7 separate regions of the Homo sapiens genome follow, and regions 1, 2, 3, 4, 5 and 7 are each linked to region 6. The links are contacts of gene promoters, found by promoter capture Hi-C in blood cells and fetal thymus (Javierre and others, 2016). All regions are on one chromosome and are shown on one strand. The core of a region is centred on a gene start or on the middle of the fragment in contact, and the rest is flanking DNA. Distances in the headings are between cores, read along the strand shown. Region 1 overlaps LRIG1 (leucine rich repeats and immunoglobulin like domains 1). Region 2 overlaps LRIG1 (leucine rich repeats and immunoglobulin like domains 1). Region 3 overlaps SLC25A26 (solute carrier family 25 member 26). Region 4 overlaps LRIG1 (leucine rich repeats and immunoglobulin like domains 1). Region 5 overlaps LRIG1 (leucine rich repeats and immunoglobulin like domains 1). Region 6 holds the start of ARL6IP5 (ARF like GTPase 6 interacting protein 5). Region 7 overlaps SLC25A26 (solute carrier family 25 member 26).

Region 1 (2,880 bases), core at 279-2,778, 2.6 Mb after region 6:
CAGCTTGCCATCCCTTTTACCAGGGAGATCTTTCGTGTATCCCTTTCAAGATAGAAACTCAGCCAATTAACATGTACAGCCTAGTGGCTTCCTTTTTCTTTTTTGAGGCAGAGTCTCACTCTGTCGCCCAGGTTGGCGTGCAGTGGTGTGATCTCAGCTGACTGCAACCTCTGCCTTCCTGGCTCAAGTGATTCTCTTGCCTCAGCCTCCCAAAGAGCTGGGATTACAGGCGCCTGCCACCAAGCCAGGCTAATTTTTTTTTTTTTGTTTTTTTTTAGTAGAGACAGGGTTTTACCATGTTGGCCAGGCTGGTTTTGAACTCATGACTGACCTCAAGTGATCCATCCACCTCAGCGTCCCAAAGTGCTAGGATTACAGATGTGAGCCACCACGCCCGGCTGTGGCTTTTTCTAATTTTGAAGTCTGACTCTGTTTTTGGCCAAATTCATATTAAATTTACCCATCTACCTAGGTTTGCATTGGTTACCTCTTAGTTACACTGTTTTTGAAAATCTTGAAAATTATGACAGTAATTGGACTCCTTAAAATACTTTTCATGGAGAATCTAGAAGCTTTTATTTTCTTTGTTCTGGATGTCCACTTTTCTTCGACGTGGAATTTGTTAGTGCCTTCAGTGGAAATTCTTGGGCTTTTCTTTTCCTTCCACTCATTCTTTATCGTGTAAATTTTCATAAAACGAAACTTCCGGATTTAAAATTTATTTTTATTTTTATTATTGTTTTCCGGAACAAATTCTTGGAATTTGGAGTTTTGTTTGGGGATACAACTAAAATGCAATGAAGTTGGAGGAACAGTTAGTGGTCTGGAACTTCTTGACAGAAGTTTAACAACAATTAGGGACTACTTTAGGAATAGAGTGTCCAAAAAACTAGACTTTACAAAAAAAATTCTCCCTTTAAGAACCAAAGATGACCTTTTTCCATTGTGCTTTCTGAGCTCAAAACAGGCCAAATGATGTTCCCACCCTTCTTCGAGCCTCGTGTGTCAGTGTCACACACTCTCCCTGTTACTCACTTGGTCTCGTTCTGGTGAATTTATTGTTGACATCTCGTCCTTTCCCGGAGGAATCTCTGAGTCTATCTGATTAGGTAACTCTTCACACATCCCTGTATGTGTGTATGTGTGTGTGTGTGTTTCTCTCCACTTAGACTTGAAAGCAGCAGGGATCATTCAATTTCATGTACCTAGGAGTCCCTTGATAATTATTTGTTTATTGCCTTACCACTTTGTCTTGGAGCTTGGTACATTCTTTCAGGGCAGAACGGATCCCCCAGTTTCATTGTTTCTCTAAGGGGTTCTGAGGTTTACCCCTGAAGTGTAATTTTTCCTGATTGGCCTGTGTGGAGGACTTCATAGGAGTGTTTTTAGAATTTAAATATCAGGAGTAAAAGGCCATTTTCTTTGTGCTGAGGGTCTGTTTTCCCCTCTGGAGCCAGCGGCTAAATGCAGAGGCTTTCTTCAATTGCTGTTGCTTCTTGCAGTGTGGCCCCTCAATGAGAAGTCATAGCTTGTGGTTTGTCTGATTTTATATGTCAGAACTTTTAGAGAGAATATTTGACCTAAAACAAAAATTATGGATAGTCCTCTCTTCCTTTCCCATTTCTCCTTATTTTCTACTTTCTGCTTGAGAACCACTTCAAAGAATCAGATGTGTTGGTGCCAGACGCCGTGGAGTTATTGTTAGAAGAATTTGGAAATATAATTGAAAGCAAACTTTGTTGAGCAAAGCAGATCTAGGCAAGTTTTTACTTTGAGGGCGAAGGGAATTCCAAGTTTTTCCTCTATTTGGAGCTGATGTCTCAGAACACTTGTTCTGTGAGATGAATCATCTGTGAATTCTACATCTGGGAGTTATATATTGGGAAATGGCATTCTTTTTAAATGTAGAAGAAACACAAAAGCGTAAAGTTACAGTGTAGTTGGAAAATTCTAGTCAGAGTTTAAAATACTAGCATTGAGGTGAAATTGGCAGAGTGATTGGACGTGAGTCTGTGATACCTAAAATAGACATGTCCATACATGGAAAACAATACGATAGCCACACTTACTTATTGTGACCCTTTTCGTTTGTTTTGAGACATTTTTAAAAAGTCATAAACATCAGCTATTCAGAATCATTAGTTGAGTCGATTGTGACTTGAGAATCAGAATTTAAGCGTTTGTCTTGAGCTCTTTAAGTTCAGGTGCCTTGCTAACCAGTGAAAAGCCCAGAGCAGTGCAGTATTTCAGGGTCTTCAGGGGAAGATAATGTTGTGTCCTTGTCTTCTCAGAGTCCTGCATTCCAGGCATCTGGTTATGAGGGGCCATGGTTGTGGGGATGCAGCAGCTGTGCGGTTCATGACGCACGGTGGTTAAGAGGCAGCTCTGGGGCCTGGCTGCCTGGGTGACCTTGGCAATTTACTCCACTTCAGTTTCCTTTTCTGTAAAATGGGGATAATTGTAGTGCCGACTTCCTTAAGCTTGTTATAAGGAAAAAAATGAAATATTTAACACAGGGCCTAACACACAAGCAGAAGCTTGAGGAAGGGTAGCTATAATGTTATTATTATAACTGTCGCAATAATAGTGTACCTTTCTGCAGCAGGATATATCTGTGTTAACTGATCATCACCATCTTAACTCTATGAAAAATATTGTCTCTGTTGTATACATGAGGCCCAGAGTAGTTGAATGACTTGTTTAGAGTCTAGCACTTGCCAGTTAGAATTCAGACCTGCGTGTACATGTTTAGAAGAAAATACGGTAAGACTAGCACTGCCTTCTTTCTGGCCTCCCTTTGACGTCTCTGAATTCCTGGAGGCCGATTGGTCTTTGGTGGCTTGAAGCACCTAGTGTAGTTCTGGCTGTACAGCTGGTGCT
Region 2 (2,919 bases), core at 21-2,520, 2.6 Mb after region 6:
TTACAAAGCACTTGGTGAACCTGGGATTCCAAATGTATCCACCAGGTTAATGTGTCCTTTTTCTCAGTTTTACCCATCCCATATTTCCTGTCCCTTTTGCCTGACTTGTTTTCAGTACTCCAGAAGCAAAAGTCTCCGTTTTCTGCCGCAGTAGAGCGTGGTTTTCATTTATGAGAACCCTCTGCCATCCTTTAACTGAGAGAACCTCTGGGTTTTACCTCTGGCCGCCCTTCATCCCCGCCATGCCCTCCGTCCCTGCTGGTTGGGATGGATGAGCCTTTGCTCTCCCTGCAGCGGCTGGGGCCCTAGGCTGTCAGGGCACCTCGGGGAAGAGTTCAGTGGGAGCAGGGAGCACCTGGCTCCAAGGTTCCAACCCCCCTCTGTTCTGCAGAATGACTGGGCTCCCAGGAGGTAAAGATTCAGCTCTGTTACTGGATGGGGTGAGGATAGGGGGGCTATTGTGCAGGTGATGAGTTTGCCAAGTCCTGTAGAGCTTAAGGACTATGTGAAAGTTAGTGAATTAGTGTTTCTTTTTGGAGATGATAAAGTAGAGAATAGGCGATCCTGAATGACCAGACTTCTGACCCATCTCTTCCCGCTCCCCATTTCCAAGCCTCTGCAAAGCACTTCTCTAATAGCAAAGCCAAATGGTGGCTGTAGGCACCTCTTGCCTGCTGGGGTGGCCATGGTGATATTCCCTTTGTGGCAGGTCTGTGGGAGGGTCAGCCTCTGGCAGCAGCTATTCCCTGCCCAAATTCCTTTTGCTTGTAAAGTCCCCACCAACTGCAGAGCTGGTGTGTTGGAGCGCCTCTTCTTAATTAAATTAATTAATCTTTAGGGGTTAATGATGCACATACCATATTAACAAGAGACTATTATGGGAAATTTGTGGGCTTTCCTCAGTACTAAACTGCACTAAAGATGAGACTGCTTAAAGTAAAACAAAACAAAACCCATTATAGCTAATTATTTTGTTTCTTTTTGGCCAAACTAAGATTTTTGGTAGGAAAGATCCTAGAATCTCCCATTTTAAGGGGTAGTATAGAAAGCAAATGCTAACTGCCTTCAGTGATGGTGAGAAAACAAATTGGGCCTCTTGATTATCTAGTTCAGAACTTTTAAGTAAATGAACAAGGCGATACTCTGTTCTTATGGAAATCAACTTTAATGGCCCCATAGATTAATGTTCGTGAGGGACCTGGCACTGGGGTTTGCTAAGGTTTATATAACCCTTGACTTAACCGCCTGGTGGGTTGTGGGTCTGGCAGCATGGGGCTATTCTTCTCAACTTTGCTGTAAAACCATTTGTGTCTTGCCCTTTCCTTTCTAGGAGGTCCTGACTTCTTGGCCTTTTTGTTTGCTTATTTTACTCCATGCCCTCCATTCCTTATTTTACTTTTCTGGCCTCGTTTCCCAGGACTCCTCTTCAAAAAAACATGCTCTTCTTCTAGGCTTAGCTGAAATCTTGCATTTTCAATAAACGTTTCTCATTACAGCTGATCTTTCCTGCTCTGGACGCCATCTGGCCTTCATTCATGTTATCCATGCTAGGGATGACAAACTCAGATCTCGGGCTGGGAAGATACTGCCGGTGAATAAAGAGGGCATGGGTGAGACAATAAGGAGTGGTGAGGTCTGTGGTCATTGGAATGCTTGGTAAATGCATGTAGTTGATTGTTTCTGTTAGGAATGCTGGCCCTCCGATTATTTTCAAGAAAAGCTGAAACTTTAGTTTTTGGTGAAAACTTTAGGTTTCTACCAACACTGTTCAGTCAGAAACAAGCAAGTTTCCCTGCAGCCCAGCTTTGTACCCACAAACTACCAATTTGTAGCTACTGATCTACCATTACAGAATGCTTGCAAGTGTCAGAGCCTTTGGCTGTGTTATTTGGTCAGTATTCTTTTTTTTTTTTTTTTTTTGGTAGGGACAGGGTCTCACTATGTTGCCCAGGCTGGTCTCAAATTCCAGGCCTAAAGTGATTCCCCGACTTTAGCCTCCGAAAGTGCTGAGATTTATAGGCGTGAACCACCACACCCGGCCAGGAGTCTTAACTTGACCAGTGGGTTGTAAACCACTTCAAGTCACAGACTAGATCTTATCCTAATTTGTTATCAGTTTATCACAGTGCAGTATACCTTGTAGACAATAAATATTTGTCAAATTTGACATTTGTTGGGTGCTAGAGGGAAAAGATGTAGACTTGTACTCAAATTAGCTACAGACCAGGATGACATGTGTGAACTAGTAAGGCCGAGAAGCACATGTAAGACCTTATGGGATCACAGAGGTAGGCATGAGTTTCTTCTCTCAGTTAACGTCACGGGCGTTAGACTTCAGAGGCCCACACTGATTATTATAGCTGATTTTTAAGGAGTAAAAATAGGCAATGAGTCTGGGTCCATATATAGCTGTATGTATATAGTATCTCCTATTTTGAGTCACTGTAGGTTTCCCTTATTTGCATAGATAATGGTCTATGTAAAATTTTCAGAAATGGAAATAACTGGTGACTCATTACTGACTTTGTGAGATACAACTGCCCAAAAGCTTACAAAATGAGCTATTTGTATCATGTTGAGATCTGAGTGATTTTTTTCATTTGATTATTTGCAGAATATGTTCTTTTGCCATAGGGAATATGTGGCTGCTTAGCTTACTGAAGAGAGGTAGCAGCAAGTACAGAACCTTCTCCTGAGTGGAGATCCTTGGATAGGATACTAGAGGAATGATTCCAGTTCAAGATACAATTTTGTCATCTTAATATAAGCCTTTAATGTGCATTATCCGCTTGTTCAGTTGTGGTTTTTGGTTAACAAGGGGAAGCATCACAATACAAAAAAAGGTAAGAACATCTAATATTCTGGGATTTGAACGAAGTCTTATTCTCTTTTATAAAACCTTACAACATGGGAACATAA
Region 3 (3,046 bases), core at 181-2,680, 2.8 Mb after region 6:
TTCTGAAAACTGTTTATTACAAATCATCAGTTTTGAAATAATTCAAAGTGATCTCCCACCAAAAAAAGAAAACCCCACAAAGAAATAAATCATATTTACTTTTCTGTCCATTAAAAATATGCTGAAAGTGACACAGATGTACCTCTCAGAAATTTCTCATTATATTAAAACTTATCCACAATTTATGACAAGGAGTTTTACTAGAGAAAATATTAATTTCACCAGCTTAGTAATAATATCCAACATTTCATTTTCCTCCTGATATACCTATCAAATGGTTTTGGTATTTAAGCTCTTCTTTTTTTCAAAACAGAAGAAAATCTGTTAACTGAACTTTGTATCACCTAGTCCAGTGGTTCTCACACTTCAGAATGCATCAGAATCATGCAGAGGGTGTATAACACAAATTCTGGGCCTCACCCCAAGTTTCTGATTCAGAAGATCTCAAGTGGGGACTTAGATTCTGCATTTCTAGCAAGTTCCTAGGGAATGCAGCTGCTATTCGTGGAGGGACTGTACTTTGGGAACCAATGATCTACTCAGTATTTTCCTTCTTTTCATAATTTGCAAATTTGATAACGAGGAAATGATATGCTATATCCTTTAAAGACAGACATCTTTTGAGAACTTAGAATTAAAGAGAAATTGACAAAAAGGAAATCTAATCTAAGGCACAGCACAGCCCTCAAAGATGATCTAGTCTAGGATTCAGAAAACTTTTTCTGTAAAGAGTCAGATAATAAATAGCTTAGGCTTTATGGTCCATACAGTCTCTGTTACAACTACTCAACTCTGCCACTGTTGTGTGAAAGCAGACAGACAATACATAAATGAAAGAAAGTGGCTGCATGCCAATAAAGCTTTATTACAAAAACAGGCTGTGATCTGGATTAGGCCCACAGGTCATAGTTTACCAACTATTTTTTAAAAAAGGAAATCAATACCCAGAGAGATTAAACAACTTCAAAAGGCACAAGATAGCGAGTGGCAAAACTGCAACTAGACCTTCAGTGTCCTGATGTCTGATGTACTAAGGAAGCTACTGTTATAGTAATATTTTGATAAAGAACAGCCACAAATGGAATGCATTACAAAACCTCATGTAGCTTAATGATCAAAAAGAAAAAATGACTTTACTAAGCAAAAGAGCATCTCAGTTCTAGAATTAATGCCAGACATTCTTTTTTTTTTTTTTTTTTTTGAGATGGAGTTTCACTGTTGTTGACCAGGCTGGAGGGCAATGGCACGATCTTGGCTCACTGCAACCTCCACCTCCCGGATTCAAGCAATTCTCCTGCCTCAGCCTCCCGAATAGCTGGGATTACAGGCACCCACAACCATGCCCAGCTATTTTTTTTGTATTTTTAATAGAGATAGGGGTTTCATCATGTTGGCCTGGCTGGTTTTGAACTTCTGACCTCAGGTGATCCACCCGCCTCAGCCTCCCAAAGTGCTGGGATTACAGGCGTGAGCCACCGCACCTCGCTCAATGCCAAACATTCTTATTCTTATTATTACTTATAAATGGGAGGCTTCCACCATTGGACAACAATCTGGACTCTTGTCACATGGCTTCCTGCAGCCTACACTAGGTTGGAGCAGGGCCTACGCCAGTCAAGCCTTCTGTTCAGGGAGTGTGGAAAACAGAATCGAGGACTTCTCAGTTCTTACCCTCTTGGTCCTGCACCTTTCTCATCCCATCTGCAATCCATTTTATGCCATTCGTTAAAAAAATTCTTCCCAGTACTAAAATTATGGTTAAGAGCCAAAAGAGGTAGTAAACTATGAAACTTAAGTTAAAAACAATGCTTCTGTTCAAAGTTTTATTTTCATTCTAGTGATTAAATAATTATTAAGTTAAATATAATATTTAGCTAATAAAAGTAAAGCAGACATTTATCTTCACTACTTAGATACCTAAAAGTATACTATGCATACACACACAATACATTCACATATGAACACATACTCCCTATGCTTTCATAGTTGCCAAAGCTTTTACTCTTAAAACTGATTATTTAAATAAGCAATATATTTTAGCAATTAATAAAGTAAATTTTATGTATGGCCTTACAACTATTTTATGACAGTTTATTTTTAAAAATAAAGCAAATGCATGTATATCAGGAAAATAAAATAACTTGATTTTAAGTATCTGAGATAAAGTTTTGAACATGTTTGATGTACTCTAAACCATGCATGGAAAAGCATCTGTTATTTACAGATCAAAGCAAACCTGAGTATCCTAAAACAACTAGAGTGAAAAATTCCCAAATTTAATTTCATCCCTGTCCACATGCTTCTTTGAACTAATAATTCAGAGAATTGGTCAGTATGTTGAACTAATTAGCATGCTTAATGCTTGCCAACTTTGATGGCTCCAATTCTTTAAGAAATTTTTTTTTTATTTTCCAAGACGGAGTCTTGCTCTGCCACCCAGGCTGCAGTGCAATGGTGCGATCACGGCTCATTGCAACCTCCGCCTCCCGGGTTCAAGCTATTCTCCTGCCTCAGCCTCCTGAGTAGCTGGGATTACAGGTGCCTGCCACCATGCCCAGCTAATTTTTGTATTTTTATTAAAGATGAGGTTTCACCATGTTGGTCAGGCTGGTCTCGAACTCCTGACCTCGTGATCCACCCATCTCGGCTTCCCAAAGCTGGGATTACAGGCGTGAGCCACCGTGCCCAGACAAGAAATGGAATTTAAAAAATAGTTTTAAAAACACACACATGGCCGGGCACGGTGGCTTGCACCTGTAATCCCAGCACTTTGGGAGGCCAAGGCAGGCGGATCACGAGGTCAGGAGTTCAAGATCAGCCTGGCCAGCATGGTGAAACCTCGTCTCTATTAAAAATACAAAAAATCTTCGGGAGGCCGAGGTGGGCGGATCACGAAGTCAGGAGATCAAGAGCATTCTAGCTAACATGGTGAAACCCCGTCTCTACTAAACACACAAAAAATTAGCTGGGCTTGGTGGTGGGCACCTGTAGTCCCAGCTACTCAGGAGGCTGAGGCAGAAGAATGGCGTGAACCCGGGAGGCGGAG
Region 4 (3,141 bases), core at 134-2,633, 2.7 Mb after region 6:
GACAACCAGCTCCTGGTGGTTCAGAACGTGGTGGCAGAGGATGCGGGCCGATATACCTGTGAGATGTCCAACACCCTGGGCACGGAGCGAGCTCACAGCCAGCTGAGCGTCCTGCCCGCAGCAGGCTGCAGGAAGGATGGGACCACGGTAGGCATCTTCACCATTGCTGTCGTGAGCAGCATCGTCCTGACGTCACTGGTCTGGGTGTGCATCATCTACCAGACCAGGAAGAAGAGTGAAGAGTACAGTGTCACCAACACAGGTCAGGCCCTGCCAGCGGAGCTGACTTTCAAGGAGGGAGGAATGGCAGTGATGCTGGGGAACTGGGCCGGGTTCCAGTGGCTTTTGAAAGAATTGCACTGTGTTCAGAACTCCTGAGGGTTTAGTCCCACTAATTCCATTTTAACTTTGAGGAACTTAACCTTAAACAGGAATACTCTCAAATTTAACCTTAAACAGGAATACTCACAAATACAAGTAACTGACGCACCATGCAGTTTTCCCTCTCCTTGCTAACTCAGAGGCCGCCTATGCACAGGCCCTGCTGCCACGTAGTAGGTTGTTCCTGAAACAGTGCGGTACTTCTGTGAGCCCCGGCTTTCCATCACTGGTCTCCACTTCTTGTGGCGTCTGGCATCTGCTGGCTGCGCTCTTCACGCTGGGTGTAGAGTAAAGCTGAGCAGGCTCTGGGAGGGCCTGTTGCGTACATGGACTCCATGTCATCTCTCTGCACAGCGCTGATGGTCGTCACTGGGAGGATCCCCTTTCTGAGCTTGACAGTGAACGTGTGTCTGCATTTCTTGTCACTGAGACCCTGGTGTTCTATTTGTTCTGTCTCCTTGCAGATGAAACCGTCGTGCCACCAGATGTTCCAAGCTACCTCTCTTCTCAGGGGACCCTTTCTGACCGACAAGAAACCGTGGTCAGGACCGAGGGTGGCCCTCAGGCCAATGGGCACATTGAGAGCAATGGTAAGGCCTCAGTAACTGTGAAGCAGAGCTCTGCTGTGACTGTGTCTCTGGGTGCTGGAGGTGGCCTCCAGGTCTTTACAGGGCAGGTACCTGGCATTAGATGGGGCAAACTTGGTGAAGTAGAAGGCGGTATGACTAAGGGCTGCTATTTTGGACCCAGTCTTCATGAGTTCTGCAAGGTTTTAAAGTCCTGTCCCCTCAGGAAGCCACTGGATTGGGCTTAGCATCTCCCTGGCAGGATAAAGTAGGCTTGCCTGGAGTAGCAGCTGGAAAGGGCATTACGGTGCATGAACCCAGCCAACCCATTCCTTACATGGGGAACGTGCCCAGGTCTGCTCTGTGATCCAGTCTTACACTGGAAAGCTGTCACCAGGATGAGGTACTTCCAACGGTGGGGGCCTCTGAGCACTTGCCTGAGACTGTAGAGGCTCACCCTGAGACAGCTGCTCATTTCACAAGGCCAGCCTGCCTGCTGGGAAGTAGTAGCAGAAAACACGCTGCTTGCCAGACCAGCAGCCCCACCGCTCTGAAGAACTTTTTAAAAAAAATGACTGTTCTAGCGGCCTTGCTCATTCCTTTCATAAGGCTTACTGTGAAATACCAAGCCCAGAGTTTCTAATCGTGTTGGAATCCACTTGCAGGTGTGTGTCCAAGAGATGCAAGCCACTTTCCAGAGCCCGACACTCACAGCGTTGCCTGCAGGCAGCCAAAGCTCTGTGCTGGGTCTGCGTATCACAAAGAGCCGTGGAAAGCGATGGAGAAAGCTGAAGGGACACCTGGGCCACATAAGATGGGTATGAGATGCTTCCCATTGGAAGTAGTTTCTTTCTGAAATGGAAATTTGGGCTGACCTAGTCACTACATCAAAGGGGGAGACACATTCCTAGTCCACAGCTGTCTCCAAATTTGGTATTCAGTATATACAGGGGAAGCTCAGGCCTGGCTCTCTTAATTCCAGGATAGTTTCTCCTAAATAAATCTACGCCATGGTAAGCCTGAGCATGAATTTTCTAGATGTATAAGCAACTTAAATAAGGGGCAAGGCACAAACGAAGTATAGAGTTTCAGTCAGCACTTTTTCACCAGGGCTATTTTGAGGCTTATTTCTAATTGTTGAAAAGACCCAACACTGCATGGTACCTAAGGCTAATGGCTTTTCCCCCGTGAAGCAGTAAGACTACATTGTCTATGAAATTCACTGTAAACACGAAAGACCCCACAGTTCATGAGTGACTTGGTGTTTGCCCAGTCCTTTCTCTGGGGACATAGTTGGGGAAAAGAGGAAGCATGCATACAGTGTTTGCAGTCAGGGTTCTCACCTTGCACAGTGGAGCTGAGCAGCCTGTCCTCTGTGTGGGGACGAAGACTCCCACAGCAGTGACTCTAACCCATCTTTGGCGCTGTCCTTCAGAACACGGTGGCCGGGTCGTATGCAGTGACTGCAACACCGAAGTGGACTGTTACTCCAGGGGACAAGCCTTCCACCCCCAGCCTGTGTCCAGAGACAGCGCACAGCCAAGTGCGCCAAATGGCCCGGAGCCGGGTGGGAGTGACCAAGAGCATTCTCCACATCACCAGTGCAGCAGGACTGCCGCTGGGTCCTGCCCCGAGTGCCAAGGGTCGCTCTACCCCAGTAACCACGATAGAATGCTGACGGCTGTGAAGAAAAAGCCAATGGCATCTCTAGATGGGAAAGGTAACTTTTGACTGTCTTCTAACAGGTGGGTTGGGAGCTGCTTAAACGGTCAAGTGGGGGTCTGACAGGTTCGTTCTTTCCTTGTAGGGGATTCTTCCTGGACTTTAGCAAGGTTGTATCACCCGGACTCCACAGAGCTACAGCCTGCATCTTCATTAACTTCAGGCAGTCCAGAGCGCGCGGAAGCCCAGTACTTGCTTGTTTCCAATGGCCACCTCCCCAAAGCATGTGACGCCAGTCCCGAGTCCACGCCACTGACAGGACAGCTCCCCGGGAAACAGAGGGTGCCACTGCTGTTGGCACCAAAAAGCTAGGTTTTGTCTACCTCAGTTCTTGTCATACCAATCTCTACGGGAAAGAGAGGTAGGAGAGGCTGCGAGGAAGCTTGGGTTCAAGCGTCACTCATCTGTACATAGTTGTAACTCCCATGTGGAGTATCAGTCGCTCACAGGACTTGGATCTGAAGCACAGTAA
Region 5 (3,288 bases), core at 612-3,111, 2.6 Mb after region 6:
AGGAACGAGTGTCAGGGCACTTGGCTTGTGGTCCCTACTCTGACATTATGGATCCATTATAGGACGTTTCACAAAACACTTCTCTTTGTGACTTCTGTTCCCTCACCTGTAAGGAGAGGGGCTGGTTCAGTATCAACCATACTCAACCAGGGTTAAAAACACACATGGCTGCTTCCCTACTGGAGGCCTGGGCTGTATGTTCTTTGGAACAGACTCACATCCCTAGTTGAGAACTGCTGTTGTGGGTGACCCTGTAGTTCTGGGGCCCCAGGTTCCTGGCAGGCTCACATGTTTATGAATTCTGTGGAGAAGGCCGGCTGAGCTGTGTGCTCTATGTTGCAGAGTCTGCGTGGAGTGGGACAGGGGGTAGCACCCTAGCAGGCCCTTCGGGTCCGGTGCCAAATCTGGGCCCTGCATCTCATCTCTACAGGGGTTCCCCAAGGCCTTGGCTCCCAAGCATCCAGATGTGGCTCTGAGGCAGCCCTCATCCCTCCCCACTCCACACCAGCCACCCAATGAAGTACCTTCATCAATATTTGACGAAGACATGAATGAAGGGTCCCTTCGTGGCTTCCCATCCTCTATGGGACAAAGTCCCAGCTCTTTCAGAGTTGGCCCTGGCTCCATTTCTTCCTGTTCTCCCACCTCTAAATTGTGCGTAAGGAAAGCCCACACTGGGTGTGTCTCTGGATCCTGTACCTGCTTCATTTTGCTACCTTGATCTGGAATAGCCGCCCCTCTTCTGACCTCCTCCCCCCATGATGTTGTGTTCCCCTCTGCCACTGCACCTATGACATCCCTCTGTCTCCTCTGGGGCTGGGGTGAGGGGCTGATGGCACAGTAGCCACGTCCGTCTTTCCTTGCAGCAGCTGCATGTAGCAGGCATCCCATCCATGTATGGATGAATGACTCTGAGGGACCAAGTGGAAGGGTCATCTTAAGGATAAGTGATTGTGGGGTATGGGGCAGACACTAGGTTGTTTTAGATACTTATTCAAGGTGGAGAGACAGGCTTGGGCACGTTATAGTAGAAGTGGCCTGCTGAGGGGTGCTGGAGGGCGTGGCTCTCCAGCCAGGGGATAAGTCTTGCTTGCCTGGATTTACTGAAGAGGCAGGCAGGGTGTCAAGGGAGAAAAAGTATTAGTGGAAACTGCCATGTGAGAGGCCGCCTGGCCCAGAGGTGGACAGGGCTTGCCCCCAGGGCTCATTATTGGGGTTTGAGTCCTGGTTCTGCCATGTTCTAGCAGCAGCTTTTCAAGCCTCTGTTTGCTTAGATGAGAAATTGCTCTTACCTTACCACAGATGTGTCAAAAAAGGGCTCTCCCAGTCTCTGCTCGCTTGTTTGAGGGGCCAGCAGGTGGTTTGGGAAAGGCTTTCTGTGAAGCGAAGGTGGAGAGTCACTGCAGATCCCTGCAGGCGTCCAGCCCATGCTGGGAGATGCCACCCGTTCCCCACTGCAGAGACGGAAGGAAAATGAGGGAGGTGCAGCAGGCTGCGTAAAAGATGACATTAAGGAGTGCCTGGATTCTAGAGGTGCCAGTAGATGGCATTGAGGGGGAAAAGAGTGCTCTGTGTTCAGAAAGTTCAGAAAACCCAGAGTTGAAGGTGAGCACCTTTCTTTCCTGCAGAACATTTCAGAGCCTTTAGTGCTTGATGTTCCCTTTGAGTCTCCAAGGACAAGCAGAGATCTTCCTAAGATCATTTCATCATAGCTCTATTATGTTTTCATTTTCTTTCAGAGGTAGGAAGGGAGATTTTGGGAGCATGAGAGGTGCTGACCTAGAGAATGATAAAATCCACTCCTCACGTTCCCCTGGCAGTAGAGAGTGCTGCTTCCCTGTCTCTAAATGCACATCCATGAAGTTTAGACTTCGCTACCACAGGCATATATTCCCCCCTCCTCTTCAGTTCTTCCTGTGCAGGCTTGTCACAGTTTGGCTTCATTTGGAGGCTGGCACCAGACCCCCGGGCTCTGCGTTGTATGTCTTTTGACCTCAAATGAGGGGGAGAGACGTGGTGTTTCCCACAGATAGTGAGTAGTGAGCCACCTGGAATACTTGTTCTGTGGGATGTTAATGGTCGTTTCATGAAAAGGATTTTGTGGTCATGTAAGTTTAGCAAATGCCAAAGCAAGCCGAGTGAAAGGTGTTGTTATCATCTCTCCTAAGCCGCTTTTCTTTGCTGACCTGCTGAGGGAGTCTGCAAGAGGCGGGGGAGGAAATGCCCCTTCCTGAGCTTGCCTGCACCCAGCACCCTTTCCATGGAACACCTCCCAAGGCCAGTATACGAAGGATGATGCTTTGGGAGTGTGGTGTCTGGCAACCTGCGTCTGCCACTTTCTGGGCATGCACGTCTGGCACGTCTTCCTTGGCCAAGTAGTGCTGGAAGAAGACACAGGGCTGGATGACAACCCCTGATGCCAGGCAAGGGCCACGCTAGCTGTCCTCAGCTTTATCAGCAACACCCTTGTCTCTAGGAGTCCCAGCCCTCAGCCCTTTCCTAAATGATGGGAAGTAATTAAACAGTTCATGCATATCCCTACATTTCAGAAATCACACAGAGCCCAGTGGTAGTTGGTGCTTGGCTCTGAGACCTCAGTCATACTGTGTAAGTTTCTGCTGGTTTGAAGGATGGCTGGAGACTAGTAAAGTAGCAGGAAGGCTGATTCCACTGGGAACTCCCCCAGACTTTCCATCTGATTCCACCGTGAATGCCATGACACTTTTGTATTGTTGTTTTAATGATACTTAGGGATAATTGTTGATTCACATGCAGTTGTAAAAAAAAAAAAAGTAATATGGGGAGATCCCTCACGTACCCTTAAACCCAGTTTCTCCCAATGGTGACATCTTGTACAGCTTTTCATAACCAGGATATTGACATCGATGCAGTCAGAATGCAGAATATTTGTATCATTGCAAGGATCTCTCCCCTTTATGGCCACAGTCATTTACTTCTTGCCCTCACACCCTTGGTTGTCTTTTGTTTTCTTTTTGAGACAGAGTCTTGCTCTGCCATCCAGGCTAGAGTGCAGTGGTGTGACCTTGGCTCACTGCAACCTCAGTCTTCCAGGTTTACGTGATTCTTCTGCCTCAGCCTCCCAAATACCTGGGATTACAGGTATGCACCACCACACCTGGCTAATTCTTGTATTTTTGTTTTTTGTTTTTTGTTTTTAGTAGAGATGGGGTTTCACCCTGTTGGGAAGGCTGGTCTCAAACTCCTGACCTCAAGTGATCTGCCTGCCTCGGCCTCCCAAAGTGCTGGGATTACAGGCTTGACCCACCA
Region 6 (3,192 bases), core at 1-2,500:
TTTCTCCCAAGCCAGCTTGCTGCTTCTTCCCTCTACGTCTGCCCTGAAATAGAAATGTCAGACATTTAAGTGCAAGTGAGTCCTTTATAAAGTCTGAGGGTGGCTTTTTCTTTAAAGATGTGTAGGAGATAATCAGCAAGATTGAGAATATCACCACCCATCCTGCATAAGCGAGAGAAGCATTTCTTAAAGGGTGAACTAGAAGGAAAGGTGGTTTCTAGGAAAGCAGGTGTACATGCAGTCTCAACACAGGATACTTTGTTAAGTATCAGGTATTGAAAAGGCCTTCTGATACATTGAAACCTCAGGCTAGGAAGCGAAGACAGAGAAAGTGACCACGCCTGGCCACTGCTGGAAGAAAATGCCAGAAGGCCATCTTCCCACAGTCATGGCAGCCTTTACCCCACAATGGGAGATGCGCCACCAGGAGACACCCCCCCTTTTGATCCCAAGCTCAGCTTTACTGTACAGTGTGGCAGGCATTAGGCAGAGAAAGCAGCAAAGTGCGTCGCCACTTGGTTGCCCTTTTTACACTAGCCCGGGTCCACACCCTGCCGCCCCAGCCAGCTCCAGGGTAGGGTTACACCACTTTCCTTTTTCTTCTTATTTTTAAAAGACGAGGGCGCTACAAATATCTTTCCAGCAAGAGCCCGATCCTGGCACGCGGGCGGGGGCAGGGGGGTGGGGGAACTCTCATTTTTCTTCCCTGCGGCTGGCAAATTTTCCCCGTCCTCTTTCCCCTAGGGCCCCCCTCAAGTCTCAGCCCTTGGTGCAGAAAATGGGGCCCCAGGTTACTGCGGCCTCGCCCTGCAAACAAGTTTCCACTGGCTTGGCCGCTTGCAGAATTGCCAGGGCAGGCGCTGAGCGTGGTCAGAGAGCGTCTCTACATCCCGGGATCTTGCACCCCGAGGCCCCTCCGTGCTCGCCCCGGATCGGTGTCCCGGGTAGGGGGACCCCACTTACCCCACAATGGAAATCATCATGGCAGCCACCACCAGGTAGTTGGTCTGGTAATAGAGCAGGTTGCTCACTACGCGGTTGTTCCATTTGGAAATGTCCCTGAAGTCCGGCCGGGCAAAGCGATCGGAACCCGGGAAGAAATCGTCCCAGGCGCGGAGTGGGGCGATATTAACGTCCATGTTCTCAGCTTTGCGTTCTTCGCCTCCAGAATCTGGCGGCGGCGGCGGCGGCAACCGATCAGCTGAGCTGAGTTGGAGAGTTGACAGCGGCTCCGTCTCGGTCGGCTTTGCGGTTGGCAGACAGCAGAGCAAAGGAAATTGGGAGTGGGCGGGCGTGTTTGCTCCTCTTTACTTCTTCATTGGCTCTTGGTTGGGTACAGGAAAACAGGAACCTCCAGACAGAACAAGGGACTGAGTGCAGAATAGAGACGAAATGACAGAAAGCAACTAGCGGAAATCCCCTGTCTGAAGGGAGGTGGCAATGCCTTCTCTAGCAGCAGAGAAGCTGCCTCCTTCGAAATACCTTTTTTGAAGGTTTACCTAGGAGTGTGTTCTCTGACTTAGAGAAAAATTTTGGCAGCTGTGCAGATGCCAATCTAAGTGAAATGAAATGGAAGGCGACTACAGTGTTAATGGAGAATGAGCTGCTTTTGAAAACTAAGTCTTACTAACCTCTACACATCTGAATGCAATTCCCATGTTTTCTCTGTTTCACCATGAGTCACTATGTGTGAAATCAGATTGGCAAAACGGGAAAGAAGGTCATGTAGAACAGAAGGGCTGGTCTGTTTTTTTCACTTCTCTTCTTTGTTCTCCACCTCTGTTCTCTCTAGGCTAAATTGTTGGACTGCTATGCCATTCTGATAAAGTAGGCACTCTGGCCACTTCAGTCCTGAGCTGGGCATGTTGCTTACATTTTAAAGCAAACAGTTGTCTGCAGTGAACTAGTTGTTCTGCATCCAGCATTTTCTGGGCAGAAATATGCATTCCACTTCAAAAGTTTTCTTAGTTTTATTGCAATATTTGGTGACAGCTTTCACTGAGGGACCACAATATATTCATAGATAACGTGATGTTTTGTATCCCAGCCCAAAGACCTGGCAAAAGAAGTATTCGTTGTCAATTCTCTTCTAAGCTTCCAAGGGTCATCTTTTTTCAGTTAAGGGGCTGATTGGTACAATGCATGAGAAAAAAAGTAGTTTGTTTAATTGTATAATGTAATAGGTAGAATTCTAAGGTGAAGATTTCTAAGATAACAGAGTCTCTAAGCCCCTAAGTGGCTTAGACAAGGTGAATTCACTCTACTCAGATCACCAATTTTTGAAAACTTGGAAAGTAATGAAATATACTAATGCAAAGTCTAGAAAACATAATTTAATTTTCCTTATTAATTCAGAAGACAGTTAAGGAGCTTACAGCGACTCTAAGAAATTACTACTACTACTGTTGTTTAGGAAAATTTGGTGATTGCATGGAATTAGTGCTAAGATATATCTTATGTGCTGCTTTTTGAATAAAGTTTAAAATGTGAAAATATTCCTGAGTGCTCATGTTTTCTTGATTCTGGAAAAATGGGATGGTGTGAAGTCAGAGAAAGCAAAATTAGAGTCGCAGCTCCTTCCTCTCTGGCAGGTGACTTTGGAGAAACTACTTAATCTCTCCCAGCCTCGGTGTCTTCATGTGTAAAGTGGGGATAATGGAACATCTGCCATATAGACGAGGCTAAGTGAAGGAATGTATAGGAAATGCTTAGTGTATAATAAAGGTTCACAGTTATATGTTACTATTATTGTTATTAGCAATAGGATAGCCCACGATTCTTGTTTGCTATTAATAGTGCTTTAATCTGATTTGTTTTCTATGCTTTCATTATAAACATCTACTAACTTTTCTCTACCTTGCTCCAACTTTATTGTTGTGGATGTATCTGGGTAGGGGGAAAAGGTTGAGAATATTCAGTACAATGCCAGCAAGTATTTCGAGTTCTTTTGAGGCTCTGTGAAAGCACTGTGGGTTTTTTTTCTTTTCTTTTCTTTTTTTTTTTAAAGAGGAGAAAAATGTAATCCTGCTCTGCCTTCAAAACTTCTGCAATCCAGTGGAAACACTAGTTAAATATGAGACAGTAAGAGGAGTGCTAAATAGAGATGCACTGAGCCTCAGTGCTCAGTTACAGGAAGTCAGAGGGTGTGGAGGAATTCCCCAGGGCTTCAGAATGTCAAGAGGCAGCACTGTG
Region 7 (3,128 bases), core at 335-2,834, 2.7 Mb after region 6:
AAGCACTGCAGAAAGAATAAGAAACAAGACAATGGAATCGCTTTTTCTTTACTTTTAAGGTGGCAAAGGGTGTATTTTATCAGGCTAATGCCAGTTTTAACACCAACATTTACTTCACCAACTTAGTAGAAAAGCAATGCAAAATATAAACTAGATTTCTGTTGATGACTAAAGGTCACTTTCAGTTAATCTACTTATATCTTTAAATGTTCCAAAGAGTAGAAGGCTACTCCAAATAGACTTGAAATGCTGGTAATAATGCTGAGTTTATAAGCAAAAGTAAATAACAGTAAGATGTGAATGTGATAAGAAATCAAAAATGTTATGCAAGTCATAAATTCAACAACTACTTACTAGGTGTCAGGTATTGTAGTCAAGAAAAGAAAAAGTAACAGTCCCTAGGTCTAATATTTGATGAAGGTATGGTGGGGGCAGAAGAGGATTATACAAGAGAGAAGTGAGGTGACAGAGAAAGCTTCACAGAGGTGCCTGTTATAATCTAGGGAGAAAAAAATTGGTTGCCAGGGGGCGAAAAAACACAATCCAAATAGACTCAGATGGCTGAAGACAACATTTAAAAACAGAATCTCCACAGATAAGTCTAACTTTCCACTATCACCTGGCCAGAATAATGAGCCTACAAAAAACACATAAAGAAATAATTTGGTATTTGACATGGATACTAATAAATATCTTAAAACAAACAAAAAATCTCTAGAAGACCCAAAACGTTTAAAGTGAGAAACTTCAGTGGCAAACACAAAGCATGACGTAAAGAATGACTGTAACAGCAACCACAATACACACTTCCATAGAACATACAGAACTTCCCACATTCCAGGTGTGAAGCACTTTACATACATCAGCTCATGTAATTCTCTCCAGAATCTTCCGACTTACATGTAATTTTTATTATCTTGTCATTTTATAGACAAAAACATTGTGGCTCACGCCTGTAATTCTAGCACTTTGGGAGGCCCGGATGGGAGGATCACTTGAGGCCAAGAGTTTGAGACTAGCCTAGTTAACACAGTGAGATCCCATCTCTAAGAAAAAAATTGTCTAAAGATGAGGCTCAAAGATGTTAAGTAACTCACAGATTAAACAGCGAGTAGGAAAGCTGGGATCTGGATGGGACACTCTGGTGTGGGCATGAAAACACATGGGTTTGGATCTATAGGATATAGTTGTCCTGGTAACACACAGATAAGCATTCATGAGACACTTTACTTCCACACGCAAATCACAATTTCTACCGGAATGACTTAAAATATCCAAGTGAATGAACAAACTATGTCAATGTCTGCAACAACTTGCTTAAATGAGTTTGAAATGATTTTTCTAAATGAGGAATTGTCTGAATACAGAACTTCAGAAATGTAATATTGAGACCAATCTAAAAAGAGTGTTATTTACAAATTATTCATTTGAGTGCAACCTTAAACTCATAAAACAACAATAATCAGAAAGTGACTCGTAAAAAATACATAAATTATGGAAATATTTTGAAATTACATATTTGCTCATCTATTTGGAGGGACAACAGAATTGTAATAAACAAAATACTCTAGCTGGAAGACATTACTCACAGGAAGACTATGTATTGATTATGACATTCACATAATTTTAGACTGGAATGTAGGATATAGTACAGGTAACAATATAAATTATTACTATTGACAATATTAGTTGGGATTTACTGACTACCTACAATGCTCTAGGCACTATGCTAAAGATTTTACATGTATAATCTCATTCAATGTTGAGAAGTATATTATTCTCCACAAAAACAGGTGAGGGGCAAGTTCTAGGAGATTTGCCTGAGGTCACATAGATAGTAAATGGGAAAACTGAGGCTGGTTCGTCCTGCAAATAGCAGTCTGTTTCCTCACTATCATATACAGCTCAACTTCTAGTCGAACTACATCATAATACACACGTTATTAAATATTTTGAAGTTAATACAATGAATTTAAATAATGTGGGTTTACAAAAGTTTTTTTTTTTTAAGAATCTGCCGAAAATTTTCTAAATTTCCATAATTTCTCAACCTAAATAAGTAATTTCATTGCCACAGAGGTCTAATGATCATTTCTGTCAAGGCGGATAAATGATTAGGGGAGGAGAGGGGCATTAAGGGGCCCGAATGTGAAGAAGCAGTATTGGAGTCTCAACTCACGGAGGAGGCTGTATACCAAAATAACAATAAGGAATTTAAAAAGCAAGGGGCCACATTTTCCCTGATGTTTGCTTATTTATCCCAATTCAATGTCCCATTTCCTTTTTCTGTTCAAATGTAAGTAACTTAAGAGACAGGATCTTGTTCTGTTACCCAGGCTGGAGTGCAGTGAAGTGATCACAGCCCACTGCAGCCTCCAACTTCTGCACTCAAGCGATCTTCCCGCCTCAGCCTCCTGAGTAACTGGGACTATGGGCAAGGGCCATCATGCCCGGCTAATTTATTTTATTTTTTTGAGGCAGCATCTTGCTATGTTTGCCCAGGGTAGTCTCAAACTCCTGATCTCAAGTGATCCTCCCACCCCAGCCTCCCAAGTAGCTGGAATTACAGTATAAATGAAATTTTCACATGAATCTATGGTTACATTAATGAGAAATATCAAGTTTAAGTAATGAGAACAGAAGTCAAAAATGTTCTTAGTTTCACTTCGGTAATTTTTCTTAAGTAAAGCTTCCTTAATACAGGTTGATTAGAAACCATGTCTACTAGGTTGTATGACACTTATTTTGAAATAATTTTAGATTTACAGAAGAGTTACAAAAATAGGAACATTCCACCGAGTGCAGCGGCTCGTGCCTATAATCCTAGCACTTGCTGGAGTCTGAGGTGGGAGGATCACTTGAGCCCAGGAGTTTGAGACCAGCCTGAGCAACACAGGGAGACCCTGTCTCTACAAAAAAATTTAAAAATTAGCCAGACGTGTTGGCACACCCCTGAGTCCCAGCTACTAGGGAGGCTGAGGCAGCAGGATTGCTTGAGCCTGGGAGGTTGAAGCTGCAGTTATCAGCGATCACACCACTGCAATCCAGCCTGGGTGACAGAGCAAGACCCTATCTCAAAAAATAATAATAATAAAGTTCCCACATATCCTTCACCCAGCTTCCATAGT

Evidence for each region. The method cuts DNA at HindIII sites, captures the fragments that hold promoters and counts their contacts. A CHiCAGO score of 5 or more calls a contact.
Region 1: a contact is called between a fragment that was not itself captured here and the fragment with the promoter of ARL6IP5 in region 6, in 1 of 17 cell types (naive CD8 T cells). The highest score is 6.4, in naive CD8 T cells.
Region 2: a fragment that was not itself captured here is called in contact with the fragment with the promoter of ARL6IP5 in region 6 in 1 of 17 cell types (non-activated CD4 T cells); the score reaches 7.4 in non-activated CD4 T cells.
Region 3: a contact is called between a fragment that was not itself captured here and the fragment with the promoter of ARL6IP5 in region 6, in 6 of 17 cell types (total CD4 T cells, naive CD8 T cells, naive B cells and 3 more). The highest score is 13.1, in total CD4 T cells.
Region 4: a contact is called between a fragment that was not itself captured here and the fragment with the promoter of ARL6IP5 in region 6, in 1 of 17 cell types (total B cells). The highest score is 8.3, in total B cells.
Region 5: a contact is called between a fragment that was not itself captured here and the fragment with the promoter of ARL6IP5 in region 6, in 1 of 17 cell types (total B cells). The highest score is 5.9, in total B cells.
Region 7: a fragment that was not itself captured here is called in contact with the fragment with the promoter of ARL6IP5 in region 6 in 1 of 17 cell types (total CD8 T cells); the score reaches 5.6 in total CD8 T cells.

The regions. Positions count from the first base shown.
Region 1 is chr3:66,485,861-66,488,740 of GRCh38, reverse strand. All of the region lies in intron 1 of LRIG1 (leucine rich repeats and immunoglobulin like domains 1), which reads left to right. Among named protein-coding and RNA genes, the nearest start is that of LRIG1, 14 kb to the left of the region's middle. The HindIII fragment of the contact is 1,908 bases long and covers 575-2,482 here.
Region 2 is chr3:66,468,909-66,471,827 of GRCh38, reverse strand. All of the region lies in intron 1 of LRIG1 (leucine rich repeats and immunoglobulin like domains 1), which reads left to right. Among named protein-coding and RNA genes, the nearest start is that of LRIG1, 31 kb to the left of the region's middle. The HindIII fragment of the contact is 2,560 bases long and covers 1-2,550 here.
Region 3 is chr3:66,295,484-66,298,529 of GRCh38, reverse strand. All of the region lies in intron 5 of SLC25A26 (solute carrier family 25 member 26), which reads right to left. Among named protein-coding and RNA genes, the nearest start is that of SLC25A26, 76 kb to the right of the region's middle. The HindIII fragment of the contact is 1,135 bases long and covers 863-1,997 here.
Region 4 is chr3:66,380,103-66,383,243 of GRCh38, reverse strand. LRIG1 (leucine rich repeats and immunoglobulin like domains 1) reads left to right here. Exons shown (of 19, transcript NM_015541.3): 15 at 1-262; 16 at 846-971; 17 at 1,613-1,765; 18 at 2,383-2,667; 19 at 2,755-3,141. The coding sequence ends at 2,981. Among named protein-coding and RNA genes, the nearest start is that of LRIG1, 120 kb to the left of the region's middle. RefSeq lists enhancers at 1-47, 48-549. The HindIII fragment of the contact is 3,340 bases long and covers 1-3,053 here.
Region 5 is chr3:66,435,286-66,438,573 of GRCh38, reverse strand. All of the region lies in intron 3 of LRIG1 (leucine rich repeats and immunoglobulin like domains 1), which reads left to right. Among named protein-coding and RNA genes, the nearest start is that of LRIG1, 64 kb to the left of the region's middle. RefSeq lists enhancers at 1,679-2,268, 2,269-2,859. The HindIII fragment of the contact is 5,612 bases long and covers 1-3,288 here.
Region 6 is chr3:69,082,995-69,086,186 of GRCh38, reverse strand. It overlaps ARL6IP5 (ARF like GTPase 6 interacting protein 5), which reads right to left and starts at 1,250. Exons shown (of 3, transcript NM_006407.4): 1 at 964-1,250. The coding sequence starts at 1,139. RefSeq lists enhancers at 1,170-1,479, 3,087-3,192. The HindIII fragment of the contact is 15,418 bases long and covers 1-2,096 here.
Region 7 is chr3:66,356,595-66,359,722 of GRCh38, reverse strand. All of the region lies in intron 6 of SLC25A26 (solute carrier family 25 member 26), which reads right to left. Among named protein-coding and RNA genes, the nearest start is that of SLC25A26, 140 kb to the right of the region's middle. The HindIII fragment of the contact is 2,214 bases long and covers 478-2,691 here.